5 separate regions of the Homo sapiens genome follow, and regions 1, 2, 4 and 5 are each linked to region 3. Evidence: promoter capture Hi-C in human tissues and cell types (Jung and others, 2019). All regions are on one chromosome and are shown on one strand. The core of a region is centred on a gene start or on the middle of the fragment in contact, and the rest is flanking DNA. Distances in the headings are between cores, read along the strand shown. Region 1 holds the start of GPATCH8 (G-patch domain containing 8). Region 2 has its middle 37 kb from the start of LINC01180. Region 3 holds the start of FAM171A2 (family with sequence similarity 171 member A2). Region 4 has its middle 6.9 kb from the start of FZD2. Region 5 has its middle 27 kb from the start of FZD2.

Region 1 (2,700 bases), core at 20-2,519, 140 kb after region 3:
AGACTGTTAACAGTGCTGAGTTAAAATTGTTAAACTGCTTTACCTATTTATTTACCAATCCTATCATCTCAGGGAATTCAAACTCTTTAAACTGCCTTCTGAAACACATCTAGAGTGCTTTCGTACTGCTTTGAGTAGGATCTGCAGCGGGATAAAAACTTGAGTTCTGAGATTCATCCCGACCCAAATTGCAGTTGCCAGGATATGCGGTAGTAATGCAGTGTTTTTTTTTTTTTTTTGAGACTCTACGGATGTATTTTACCTAGAAATAGCCAATCTCTACTAAATCCCTTTTAGTCTTCGAGATTTCCGCGGTAACAATTTCAACAGAAAGGTATTTTCAACAGCGAAAAAACAAGTTATTCTAATTTGGCCTTTATTTTTTACTCAATAGAGCTTGCCATCGTAAGGGCATTTTTCCATACTAACATTTGCAATTGAAGAAAGAAAAATCAAGCTTTTGGCACTAGTGACCCCATGCGTGGACGGCCTATTATCATCACGCTTCTCACAAATCTTTCGAGATAGGATTTGAGGTTAGGCTCACATCGGATCATAGTCCAGTAACTTACTGCTTTCCAAGCCCAATTAACAGCCTAATAACAGCAACACTTATGCCCCGCGAAATCTCAATGTATGACTAACCAATAAGGCGTCTGATAGCGAAGGCAACCTTTTCCCAGGTAAGGAAGAGGAAAAGCAGACAATGAAAGGAATTGATTTATCACAGTGAAGAAAGAAAAGAGAAGGACCCCAAAAGGATCCGTGAGAGCAAAATCCCGGGGTTCGGAAGCCTTGGCCTCAGCAATACTCTCCCCCAAGCCCTCTCAGCCCAACCCAACCACCCCTCTTGTCCCCTGGGAGCCAGCCCTTCGCCGGCACAGATCGGGCAGACCTGGAGGGCACAGCCCCTCACACGGCGCTCAGGCCCGGTTCCGAAATCCGATGCCAAACAGGCGGAAGCCGCAAGCCCCGCGGCCTGAGTTTCAGGGGTAAGAGAATGCGGGTGCGAGGAGATGCGGCCTCCCTCAAGCCGGGAGGCCTCTTGAGAAAGCAGAGACGGGAGAAGAGCGAGCTGGTTCGCAAGTCGGAGCAAAACTGGAAGGAAAGAGGGCTGGGAGCCGGAGATGAAGGAGGTTCTGGGCTAGACCAGCGCCTTCCCCGCATCCTCGGCGACGCCCGTGTTTACCTGAAAGTCTCGGTCTTCGTTGAAGCGGGAGAAGCGGTCCGCCATTTTGCCGCCTTCACTCCTCTCAGGACGACGCTCTCCGGTTCGCTCCTTCCCTCCTGCGACACCCACCCCTCCCCGGTTCCCCGCCTCCTCCCACGCCCACCGGGCGCGCGCAGCCGAGGGAGGGAGCGAGAATGCGCGTCCTGACGGGAGCCCCGCGGCGCAGGCGCCTGCCAGCCCTGGAGGCTGACCCTTCCCTCTAGCCCCTGCTCCGCGCGCGACCCGGAGCGACCCCGGTGGCCGCGCGTGCGCACTCCCGCCCGAGAGCCGCGAGAGCTTCCGGAGGGAAAGGTCAGAGGGGGCACCGTGCGGACAAATCTGGATGTTTTGCTGTTGCTCACTTCCGGGTGTCTTTTCTCACTGTTGCTTCCCCGTGTGCGCAGAAGTCCATCGTCTTCACTAAATAGCAGCATAATGTTGGGCCGAAAGCGCGACCTTAGAGCCAGACTGCTTAGCTTCGAATCTCAGCTCACCCTGAGGATTCAACGGTGAACGAGACAGGAATGATCTCCTCTTATGGGGATTTCATTCCAGTGGAAGAACTCACATAACTCGTAAAATAAATATTTTTAAATATCAACAAGTGCCACAAAAAAGTAAAACTGGCCACAGTGCTGAGAGGGACAGTCTCTGAAAGGACCTTTGACCGAGGCACAGCGAGGAGCCTACAGCATTGGGGCATAGGGAACGTTAGACCCAAAGGCCCAAAGACTGCAAGGAGCTTGACTTCGAGCCATCCTTTGAGAGAAGTATTTCACAAGGGACCGAAGTTGATCCAGATCGACTAAAGCTCTCTGGGCTTCAGTTTCCTTTTTATACAATAGGGAAATTGGATTCAGTAATCTCTGATGCTCCTGCCTAGCGCTGACTATGAGAGTCAAGAATCGGATTTTTCCATCCCTTCTGAGGACCTCACCCAGTGCTCCAGGACTCTTAGCCAAAATACATAAAACACATAGAAGGGTGGCAGGACTTCTCTCCTTTTGAAAAGAGTAGTTGACAGAAATCACACAATGGAAAAATGGGTCTTACCCTGCCCTGAAAGAGTCAAATGGAATGTAATTTTTTGAGGAAGGGTGTGTATTTTCTAGCTGTTACCCTTTGCCCCACCCATGCTTCAGCCTACGCTTCCATCTAAGGGGAGGCAGGGCACACAGAATTCAAACATTGTATTCTTTTTTTTTTTTTTTTTTTGAGACGGAGTCTCGCACTGTCGCCGGAGTACAGTGGCGCAATCTCGGCTCACTGCAACCTCCGCCTCCCAGGTTCAAGAGATTCTCCTGCCTCAGCCACCCTAGTAGCTGGGATTACAGGCGCCCACCACTAAGCCCAGCTCATTTGTTTTTTTTTTTTTTTGAAAAGGAGTCTCACTCTGTCGCCCAGGCTGGAGTGCAGTGGCGCGATCTCGGCTCACTGCAAGCTCCGCCTTCCGGGTTCACGCCATTCTCCTGCCTCAGCCTCCCGAGTAG
Region 2 (2,700 bases), core at 137-2,636, 250 kb after region 3:
ACACTGGTTCTGGAGCATCCAAGATGCTTCACAAATATATCTGGCCCCTCTGCTGGGACGGCTGGAGGAGAAGGGGGCTGGTTGGGGCTCTCTCTTTTCCTTCATAGTCTCTCATCCTCTGGTGCTTCTCCCTCGCTCTCTTTCCCTATAGCTCCCTCTCCTCCAGGGTGGCCAGACCTCTTTACATGGTGACTGGCTTCCAACAGGGAAGAAGTAGAAGTTGTCAGGTCTCTTAAGACCTAGACCTCAGGTTGGGCGCGATGGCTCACGCCTGTAATCGCAACACTTTGGGAGGCCAGGTGGAAGGAACACTTGAGGCCAGGAGTTTGAGACCAGCCTGGGCAACATGGCAAAACCCTGTCTCAAAAAAAAAAAGAAAAGAAAAGAAAGAAAAATTAGCCAGGTGTAGTGGCACAGGCCTGTAGACCCAGCTACTCAGGAGGCTGAGGTGGGAGAATCACTTGAGCCTGGGAGGCGGAGGTTACAGGGAGCTATGATCACACCACTACACTCCAGCCTGAGTGACAGAGACCTGTCTCCAAAAAAAAAAAAAAAAAAAAAAAAAGACCTAGACCTCACCTGTCAGGGCATCAGTGTTGCTGCCACCATTGGTCAGAGCAAATCACAGGCCACCCTGGATTGATTGATTTATTAAGTCAGAGTCTCACTCTGTCACCCAGGCTGGAGTGCAGTGGCGCACTTGGCTTGCTGCAACCTCTGCCTCCTGGGTTCAAGCCACTCTCATGCCTCAGCCTCCCGAGTAGCTGAGATTACAGGTGTTCACTACCACGTCTGGCTCATTTTTCATATTTTTTGTAGAGATGTACTTTTTGTTGGATTTTGTCATTTTTCGTATTTTTTGTAGAGATGGGGTTCACCATGTTGGCCAGGCTGGTCTCAAACTCCTGAACCCAAGTGATCTACCCGCCTTGGCCTCCCAAAATGCTGGGATTACAGGCATGTAATCAGGTGCCCGGCTCCACCCTGGATTTAAGGAGACAGAAAATGCACTAACGGAGCAGCATGCGCATGAGGGGACGGCATTGCTGGTGGCCCATCTTCGCGGACCACCCCGCCATCCCCCTAACTTGGCTCCCCTTTTGTTCCTCCTTGGCACACTGAAGCACTATCTCCTCTCTGGAGTGTCGTCCTTCTTCTTCTCCTATACCCCATGTCCAATCAGTCCCCAGGTTCTGTTATTGATGCCTCCTCCATGTCTCTCAAATCATTCTTTTTCTTTTCTTTTCTATTTATTTTCTTTTCTTTTCCTTTTCTTTTTGTTTTGTTTGTTTGTTTGTTTGTTTTTTGAGACAGAGTCTCGCTCTGTTTCCCAAGCTGGAGTGCAGTGGGGCGATTTCGGCTCACTGCAAACTCCACCTCCCGGGTTCAAGCAATTCTCCTGCTTCAGCCTCCTGAGTAGCTGGGATTACAGAGGCGTGCCACCATGCCTGGCTAATTTTTGTAGGTTTTTTTTTTTTTAGTAGAGACGGGGTTTCACCATGTTGGCCAGGCTGGTATTGAACCCCTGACCTCAAGTGATCCACCCGCCTTGGCCTCCTAGAGTGTAAAATCATTCTCACAGTCACTACCATCCGCTGTTATCCAGAATGCTCAACGGCTTCCTAAAGGGTCTCCTGTTTTCACTCTTGCTTCAATACCATGTTGCTTTTCAACTTGCAGCCAAAATGAGCATTCCAAAGGCTACACCTGTGGGGTGCTGGATGGCCGGGGACAGGAAAGTCAGGGGGATTTGTGCTTTAATATGTGCTCTTTTGTACCATGTGTGTACCTTTGCAAAAACTAAAATGACTTTTAGGGCCTGGTGCAGTTGCTCACACCTGTAATCCCAGCACTTTGAGAAGCCGAGGCAGGAGCATCGTTTGAGCCCCCGGAGTTTGAGACCAACTTGGGCAACACAGGGAGACCCTGTCTCTACAAAAAAAAAAAAAAATTATTTACGTAATTTTATTTTATTTTATTTTTGGAGACAGGGTCTTGCTCTGTCACCGAGGCTGGAGTGCAGTGGCACAATCTTGGCTTACTGCAACCTCTGCCTCCCGGGTTCAAGTAATTCTCATGCCTCAGCCTCCCGAGTAGCTGGGATTACAGGCATAAGCCACCGCACCCAGCCTTACACAATTTTTTTTTAATTAGCTGGCCATGGTGGTGGTGTCCCAGCTACATGGTGGAGGGAGGGTGGGGGCTGAGGGGGGAGGATCACCTGAGCCCAGGAGGTCAAGGCTGCAGTGAGCAGTACATCACTGCACTCCAGCCTGGGGCAACAGAGTGAGACCCTGTCTGAAAAAACAAAACAAAACAAAACCCCCCACACACAAAACAATTGACTCAAAATCAAATTTAATAATAAATAAAATAAACCAGATCCTCACTGTGTCACTCTTCTACTGGAAACTCCTCAGTGATGGTCCATGGCTCCCAGGATAAAATCTAGACTCTCAATGGAGCTTAGATACCTTTCAAGATCTGCCGCGCCTGGCCCTGCAGGCACTCTTCTCAATTTTGCGCTCTATGTTCCAGTCGAGCCGAACTTCTCTGAATTTCTTGCATTTCCTTGAAAGTACAAATTCTCTCTTGCTTGCAGCTTTTGTACAGGTGACTGCTCACAACACTCTATTTATTCTTCAGGTCTCGGCTCAGGTGTTTCCTCCAGGAAGTATTTCATGGTCCATAAAGTTGGGG
Region 3 (2,746 bases), core at 238-2,737:
GACATTCCATATAGTATCCACCTCTCCCGGCTCTAGGCCTGCCTCAGTCCAGGAGGAAATCCGACCCCCTCCCTTCATCCGGACCCCACTTCCCTCATCCAGACCCCCCCACTCTGCTTTTCCTGCCAGCTCCTTAGTGTGGGGGGTGAGGAGTGAATACTGCTTCAGGCAGGGATGGGGCCCACAGGCAGGAGAGGGAGAGCAGGACCCGGGAGGTGGACTCAGGACTGGAGTGGGCGGAGGCCCCCAAGCGTCCAGGCCTGCCTGTGGGATGTGTTGTCAGGGTCTTGCTCCCCCACCCTTTCCTGCTGCAGGAGCCGGCCCCACCCCCACCTCACACACCCACCTGCGCCCGGTGAGTCGCTGGGAAGGGTCTCCTCCACTGCGAAGATGTGAGATGAGGAGGGGGTGATATGGGGGCGGGCAGGGGACAGGAATGCCAGGAGGCCTGCTGAATGGGGGGGGACCCAGGCACCTGCCCTCCCAGCCGGCACTGCCCACAGCCAGCTAGCTCAGCATGGCTCCACGACCACAAGCCTGCCATGCTCCCTCAGCTGGGAATCACAATGTACCCCCTTTTCTTAGAGGCCCACAACTGCGGCTCGTCCTCCATCATAGGCTCACAAGCATTTATTTGGTGCACCCCAAACTCTAAACCAGGGGGGCTGGCTGGGAGCTGTCAGGCTCCAGGGCAAAGAACCCCATTAGAGCAGTCAATCCCGCCCACAGCCTCACCCACTCCCCCTTCTCCCCTCCCCCCTTCAAACCCAGCTCCAGGCTCCCAGCCTCCGGTCCCGGCCTAGGGTGGCAGCGGATGCCGGCGCCCCCACCCCGCCAGGGTCGGGAGCGAGCAACCCGCAGGGGGCTGCGGAGCAGGCGCCCGCCCCAGCCCGCCCCTGGGCGGGTGTCTTCGGTAGACAATGGCTCAGGCAGCAGCGCCTCGCGGACCAGGAGGGAGAAAAACAAATAGGGAGAGGGCGGCGGCGCAGATCCTGGGGACCCTCGCACTACCCATTGTGTCTCCCCAAGACCCCCGCCCCGGACGGCCTCCCTCTCCCCGCCTCCACTTTCCCCCAGAAGCGCCAACCCCAGATCGCTTAGCTCCCCCCACCCGAATCCAGGGAACAGAATACCACTCAATTCACGAACGCCGCGAAGAGGGGGCTGACGGGCGGGAGCCTGATCAGGGGGCGCAGGCCCGCGATCGCGGCCCCTCCCGGCTGAGACTCACCCTGCGGGCTGGGGGGCTCCGGCGGCGACTTGCCGGGAGCCCGGGAGGCGCTGCCGAGCAGCAGCCCCAGCAGCGGCAACAGCCGCGCGAGGACGCTGGGGCCACTCGCCGGCGGCATCGCGGGGCTAGGCCGGGCCCTAGCGGTCCATGGCTCCCGCCTGGTCCCGCTCGCCCGGCCCCGCGCAGCCCCAGCTCTGCGCCGCGCCTCGCAGCTCCGGCTCCCGCTCCCGCTGCGGCGCCCGCTCAGCGCGATTGTCTCCGACCGGAGCCGCCGCAAGCGCCCCCTGCAGGCGGCGCGCCACACCGCTGGCCCTCCGGCACCGCCCCCTCCCGGCCCCGCTCCGCCCGCCGCCCCCCGGTACTGCCCACCTTCAGCCCACCCCGCAGCCCCCGCGCTCTGCGCTCCCAGACTCTGCGCTGCAAAGGAGTGTCGGGATTAGGGTCCCATCACCCGGGTTCTTGGGTTTCGAGAGTCCCCAAAATTTGGTGCAAAATTTGTGTGTGTGTAGGTGGGGAGTGGATATTGCCTACAACACTCTCAAGGGGTACGGTCATGAAAGTCTCAGAAAACTGTAAGAACTCCCTGCTCGATGGCCCCCTTCTCCCGGTAGAACACCTAGGCAGTGCTGGGGTGATAGCAGGGAAGGCCCCCTAGACCCCCCTAAGTCTCTCTTTTTTTTTTTTTTGAGACAGATTTTTTTTTTTCAGAGACAAGTGAACATTTATTTTTGGGCCTTTCTTCCTATTTCAAGTCTTTTTCAAAACAAGGCCCCAAGAATCTCCAAATTCAATTATGTCCCTGGGCTTGGCCGACTGGTGCAGGAGTCTTAGGGAGCCTTGTACAAATGCTAGAGTTACTCACTTACCGACATTAAACTAAAACGCTGGAATTTTTCCTTGGAAACTGGACTGTGATTAGAGGTGCTTGCCATGAACATAAGCTACTGTTTCTTCTCCTTCTTTTTTTTTTTTTTTTTTTTTTTGAGAGAGAGTCTTGCTCTGTTGCCCAGGCTGGAGTGCAGTGGCGTGATCTTGGCTCACTGCAACCTCTGCCTCCCGGGTTCAAGTGATTCTCCTGCCTCAGCCTCCCAAGTAGCTGGGACTACAGGTGCACGCCACCATGCCCGGCTAATTTTTGTATTTTTAGTAGAGACAGCGTTTCACTATGTTGGCCAGGCTGGTCTCGAACTCCTGATCTCAAGTGATCTACCCGCCTCGGCCTCCCAAAGTGCTGGGATTACAGGCGTGAGCTTCTGTCTTTTCTTTGACCCTTCCTTTCCAGTTTTTGAAGATAAAGCTGGAAATAATCTTCTCTGAAGATACTTGATAAAAATTCCCAAAAAAACAAAAACACATGCTTCTACTACCCATGCTTCCACTTCATTAATAAAAATTTACTGCAGTTTGGCACCTGGGTCTAGTTCAGCTGGCGGATGAGCTGACTGATGCGTTCACCCTGATAGCCAGGTGTGCCCATCTCCTTGAGGAAGCCCACTGTATTTTTGGTAGCATGAC
Region 4 (2,700 bases), core at 197-2,696, 190 kb after region 3:
TTTATTTTTAAGATTTTTAAATTTTTAGTAGAGACAGTTTTGTCATGTTGCCTAGGCTGGTCTCCAACTCCTAGGCTCCAGTGATTCACCAGCCTCATCTTTCCAAAGTGCTGGGATTACTACTGTGCCCGGTCTGTGGCCCATTTCTAAGGGTCATTTCCCTGAGATCTAAATGGAGGATGGAGTGCAGGGAGAAGGAATTTGATACCTCACCTGAAGGTGGATTCAAGGTCTTGATGGACAGGTTCAGGGAGAGAGGAGGAAAGGTGAATTCACCTAAAGCAGAGGCATATTGTGTGGGTCAGGGGAGAGGGGAGCCAAGGAGACTGATTCTCTGAATGCTCAGACCTGTTTTCCACAAAGTATCTAGGACCCACCCCGTTTAGAGCAGAACATTTTTGCTTAGAGAATAAAACCATTGAGGCTCCTAAAGTATCTGAAATTAAGTCCTCCTCCTTGATCTCTGTCTCCTAAACAGATACACATAGCCCTTCCCTCTTTAGGGTGGAGGGACCTCAGTGCTTTGAAAAGGAAAGAACACTGACCCAGAATTGAGGAAACAAAGAGGGGACCTGTCCTCTGGCAGGCTCATTGGAGCAGGGGGAATTCCCTCGGGAGTCACCATACCAGGCATTGTCCCTTAGATTAGCCCTCAAGGACAGAGGGGACAGCTTCTCTGGAAAGCAAGGGCTCTAGAGGAAAACGTGCAAGGAGACCTGGACATGTGTGATTACCTAAACTGTGACGGGGGAAGGTGAAAGGCCAGAGACAGGAGGATATTTTGCGGGGAGTGGGAGCCCTAGGCAATCTCCCCAGGTTTCCTTAGCGGGGAGAAGTTCTCCGTGCTCTCCTCTCCTGAGCATGCCTGTGTGTGTTGGATGTTGCTGACTGTCATTTCACTTATCTGTGACACACAAGTCTTTCATCTTGTTTGGGTGGCATGAAGCAAGGAGAGTTTCAATGATCCAAGCATCATATTCTCACAGCCTCCTACATCTGGCTCAAGGGTAAAATCAATAAATTGTTTTATGATCCCTTTCTACTGATGAAAAAGCTGCAGCTAAGGAAGGGATGGTGACTTGCCTAAGCTACTGGGCCAGTGGGGCTGGAGCCAGGCCTGCAGCCCAGACATTTGGAGCCCCAGACCAGGTTTCTTTCCACTCCAACAGCTATTTTCTCTGCTCTCCTGTTAGGTTGAGATTTCTGCTCCTGCCAAGCCCATCCTACAGAACGGGGGAATGGACCCTGCAGCAGATTTACAGTAGGTACCCAACAATTATCCCAGATATCAGATTTGGTTTTTTTTTTGTTTGTTTGTTTTTTGAGATGGGTTCTCACTCTGTTGTCCAGGCTGGAGTGCGGTGGGGTGATCACAGCTTATGCAGCCTCAAACTTCTGGGCTCAAGTGATCCACCCGCTTCAGCCTCCTGAGTAGCTGCGACTACAGGTGCATGCTACCACACCAGACTAATTTTAAAATTTTCTGTAGAGATAGGGCCTGGCTATCTTGCCTAGGCTGGCTCAAGCAATTCTCCCACCTTAGCCTCCTAAAGTGCTAGGATTACAGGTGTGAACCACTCCACCTGGTCCTAGATGTCAGATTTGTAAGCAGACACGATTAACAGTGGTACTTCGGGGTTTGGGGGAGAAGTGGCACTTCTGTGCACTGGGGACACCTAGGCTCCCAGCCCACAGCAGAAGCCCAAGACTAAAGAGAAATGTTCCTTAGGGAGCGATAGCAGAATGTGGCCCCCTAGACTGTAGGCTCCCTGAAGCTGGAGGCTGAGTCTCTGCAGACTATCTGCTTTGCATGTAGTAGATGCTCAATAATTTATTGGATAAAATAATAGCTACTATTACCAAGCTTTTAGTCTAGCACCAGGTCATAGTGAGTGTCATATGCTGTCTCATTTAATTCTCACAACTGAAATAAGAAAAATAAAAATTCTGGGCCAGGTGCGGTGGCTCACACCTGTTATCCCAGCACTTTGGGAGGCTGAGGTGGGCAGATCACTTGAGGTCAGGAGTTCAAGACCAACCTGGCCAACATGGTGAAACCCTGTCTCTACTGAAAATACAAAAATTAGCCGGGCATGGTGGCTTACGCCTGTAATCCTAGCACTTTGGGAGGCTGAGGCGGGCGGATCACGAGGTCAGGAGATCGAGACCATCCTGGCTAACATGGTGAAACCCCATTTCTACTAAAAATACAAAAAAATTAGCCGGGCATGGTGGTGGGCACCTGTAGTCCCAGCTATTCAGGAGGCTGAGGCAGGAGAATGGCGTGAATCCAGGAGGCGGAGCTTGCAGTGAGCTGAGATGGAGCCACTGCACTCCAGCCTGGGGGACAGAGCGAGACTCCATCTCAAAAAAAAAAAAAAATTAGCTGGGCATGGTGGTGGACACCTGTAATCCCAACTACTCAAGGAAGGAGAATCCCTTGAACCAGGGAGGCAGAGGTTGCAATGAGTGAGATCGAGCCACTGCACTCCAGCCTGGGCAATGGAGCAAGACCCTGTCTCAAAAACAAAAACAAAGAAAGAAAACAAAAACCTGACTTGAAGCTCTCAGACCCAGAAGAAACAAACCTTGTGACATCCTCATGTTGGCTAGAATCTCTGCTGGCCCAAACACCTCTTCTCAGTCTCCTTCCTTATTGGCCCCAGGGCCTTTAAATGTTGACATCCCCAAAGCTTTGGC
Region 5 (2,700 bases), core at 120-2,619, 220 kb after region 3:
TTCTCCTGCCTTAGCCTCCTGGTAGCTGGGACTACAGGCACCCACCACCACGCCTGGCTAATTTTTTTGGTATTTTTAGTAGAGACGGGGTTTCACAGTGTTAGCCAGGATGGTCTCGATCTCCTGACCTCATGATCCGCCCGCCTCAGCCTCCCAAAGTGCTGGGATTACAGGCGTGAGCCACTGCACCCAGCCCTCACTGCAGATTTGATTGCATTTCTCTTATAATAAGTGCTTCCTGATTTCTGAGATTCATTAATACAATGCATAAATAATTAGCAGGTACCTCCAGGCACTGTGTTGGGGTAAACTCCTCCATCTGTCCCTGGTCCAACTCACTGTGTCATTTCCTGCCTGCCCTGTACTGTCTTGCCTTGTTGCATCCGTTAGGAAGCCATTTTCATGGCTTGGCCATCCTCAGCAAGTCAAGGAGGGGTGACCTCACTTGACCTCTTGTAGAGGGTTAGGAGTGAGGAGAATGTGTTTTTTTTTGTTTTTTGTTTTTGTCTGTTTGTTCTTGTTTTTACCTTTTCTTTGTTTCTCAATAATAATTTCTGCAACCCAATTAAGCAAAGCTGAGGGATGGGGCACAGGTTTTTTTTGTTTGTTTGTTTGTTTGTTTTTCTAGAGACAGGGTCTCACTCTCTCACCTAGGTTGGAATGCAGTGCCACAATCATAGCTCATGCAACCTCGACCTCCTGGGCTCAAGCCATCCTCCTACCTTGGCCTCCCAAGGTGTTGGGATTATGGGTGTGAGCCACTGCACCTGGCCCAGGCACATTTGTCTTGTGGTCAGAGTTACCCCTGAGTCCAAGGGCTTCCCAGAGTCACTCAGTCCAGTGGGCCACTCAGTGCTTCGGTCTTCTCATCCTAACCCCTCTGTGGTGTCAGGATGGTGGACAAAGAGCAGGTAGCTGGACACTTGGCTGTGTTCAGCGGATGTTGTTTGCTTCATGACTGGCAGGTTGAAACTTCCTCAGATTAGGTGCCAGCTAAACATAAAATGTGTTTGCTAGCAGCGCTTTTAGATTAAAGTAAGACCAAGAAAAAGCTAGGGTTCCTGTTCCCTTCTGTGTGGGAAACCTTTGCAGGTTTCTTTGCAGTGCAGAGCACTTCACCTTGACAGGAGGGAGTCCTGGCCCACCAGGCAGAGTAACTGCTTGCTCACCTGCCTGCTTCATAAACCTGTGATCAACCTGAGGCTCACACCTTATTGAGGCCTCCTCAGAATAAGGGCAGAATCAACACCTGGGAACTTTGAATGACTCTCTTCCCGGTTCCAGTTCCCAAGAACGGCAACCTGAAGGAGCCCACATCTTTCTTTGGCAGCTTAACTAATGTAATGAGACCTGCAGTTCATCCACAGCCTGAAATTTTCCTCCTAAAGCGCGCTTTTAATCCAGTCACTTGTAGAGGTTCCCCGTGGCCTACTAAATGAAGTGCAAATTCCTTAGCTTGGAATTTAAGGGCCTCCGTGATATGGCTCTGGTCTACATTCCCAGTCCCTTTTTCCACTACCTCACGCTCCAGACTGACTCAGTGTTTCCCCGTGTGCCCACGTTCCCACCCTGCGCCTTCGCCCCAGTCGTCCTTTCTCTGCCCAGAACATGTACCCCTGCTCCTCTGCCATGGCGGATGCCCTCCTCTCTCTCTCTTTTCCCAGCCATGCTTTGTTTAGAAAGTAAGAATAATGAGGTTTTTCTTTTTAAGAAAAATATAGGCCGGGCATGGTGGCTCACGCCTATAATCCCAGCACTGTGGGAGGCTGAGGCAGATGGATCACTTTGAGGTCAGGAGTTCAAGACCAGCCTGGCCAACATGGTGAAACCCTGTCTCTACTAAAAATACAAAAATTAGCCGGGCATGGTGGTGGAAGCCTATAATCCCAGCTACTCAGGAGGCTGAGGCAGGAGAATCGCTTGAACCCAGGAGGCGGAGGTTATAGTCAGCCGAGATTTCCCCACTGCACTTCAGCCTGGGAGACAGAGCAAGACTCTGTCTAAAAAATAAAAATTATATATATATATATATATATATATATATATATATATATATAAATTTCCCATATCCTTCAGGGTCTTTCTCAAAGGTAACTGGCCCACAGCTGCCTGCTCATCCCACGTCTCAGGGGATGATCTTTCCTGGCCTGGCTCCCACTCAGGCTTCGTTTCTCCACCTCTCATGTCTCAAGTCCCCTCTATCTTGCATCCTCGTTCCTGCCCCACCCCAGTGAGCGCTGGAGAGCCAAACAGGTGTCTGTCATCTATGCACTGTCTACCGCTGATCAGTATCAGCCAATCGTCTGATCTGAGTCACTCTGAAATTGGAGACTCCTCCCCTGCTGCCACCTCCTCTTTCTGCTTTGAGTATGAGAAATGGGAAGAGTTTGGAACCTGTCACTGCAACCGCTGCTGCCACCCCTTCAAGTCCTTCCCTATGAGGGCTCTCCTTTTAACTCACAGCCTCCCCTCTAAAGTCAGGAGATGAGGTCAGCCCTGAACCCCACCCTATGTCCCATCCCCCAGCCGACACAAACACCACAGAGATCAATGGGGACCTGTGTTCTAGGCTTGGGATGAAACTGTCCCGTTTGCTCTTTTCCTGAGGTAGGTACCATGGTTACGTGTCTGGCCGGAACATTTGTTCACTTTGAGTTCTTGGAATGAATGCGCCAGAAAAGGGAGAAATCAAAAGCCATC

The links. The method cuts DNA at HindIII sites, captures the fragments that hold promoters and counts their contacts. A contact is called where the count stands out against the background at its distance.
Region 1: the fragment with the promoter of GPATCH8 here is called in contact with the fragment with the promoter of FAM171A2 in region 3 in 5 of the 25 tissues and cell types used here (IMR-90 fibroblasts, heart right ventricle, lymphoblastoid cells and 2 more).
Region 2: a contact is called between a fragment that was not itself captured here and the fragment with the promoter of FAM171A2 in region 3, in 3 of the 25 tissues and cell types used here (mesendoderm cells, neural progenitor cells and ovary).
Region 4: a fragment that was not itself captured here is called in contact with the fragment with the promoter of FAM171A2 in region 3 in 1 of the 25 tissues and cell types used here (dorsolateral prefrontal cortex).
Region 5: a fragment that was not itself captured here is called in contact with the fragment with the promoter of FAM171A2 in region 3 in 2 of the 25 tissues and cell types used here (IMR-90 fibroblasts and lymphoblastoid cells).

What each region holds. Positions count from the first base shown.
Region 1 is chr17:44,502,137-44,504,836 of GRCh38, forward strand. GPATCH8 (G-patch domain containing 8) reads right to left here and starts at 1,270. Exons shown (of 8, transcript NM_001002909.4): 1 at 1,190-1,270. The coding sequence starts at 1,234. RefSeq lists an enhancer at 1,004-1,103 and a silencer at 1,204-1,553. The HindIII fragment of the contact is 22,919 bases long and covers 1-2,700 here.
Region 2 is chr17:44,611,645-44,614,344 of GRCh38, forward strand. No RefSeq gene overlaps it. Among named protein-coding and RNA genes, the nearest start is that of LINC01180, 37 kb to the right of the region's middle. The HindIII fragment of the contact is 8,739 bases long and covers 1-2,700 here.
Region 3 is chr17:44,362,366-44,365,111 of GRCh38, forward strand. FAM171A2 (family with sequence similarity 171 member A2) reads right to left here and starts at 1,488. Exons shown (of 8, transcript NM_198475.3): 1 at 1,232-1,488. The coding sequence starts at 1,349. It also overlaps the pseudogene RPL7L1P5. RefSeq lists a silencer at 1,200-1,579. The HindIII fragment of the contact is 16,504 bases long and covers 1-2,746 here.
Region 4 is chr17:44,549,230-44,551,929 of GRCh38, forward strand. No RefSeq gene overlaps it. Among named protein-coding and RNA genes, the nearest start is that of FZD2, 6.9 kb to the right of the region's middle. The HindIII fragment of the contact is 6,889 bases long and covers 1-2,700 here.
Region 5 is chr17:44,583,204-44,585,903 of GRCh38, forward strand. No RefSeq gene overlaps it. Among named protein-coding and RNA genes, the nearest start is that of FZD2, 27 kb to the left of the region's middle. The HindIII fragment of the contact is 5,837 bases long and covers 1-2,700 here.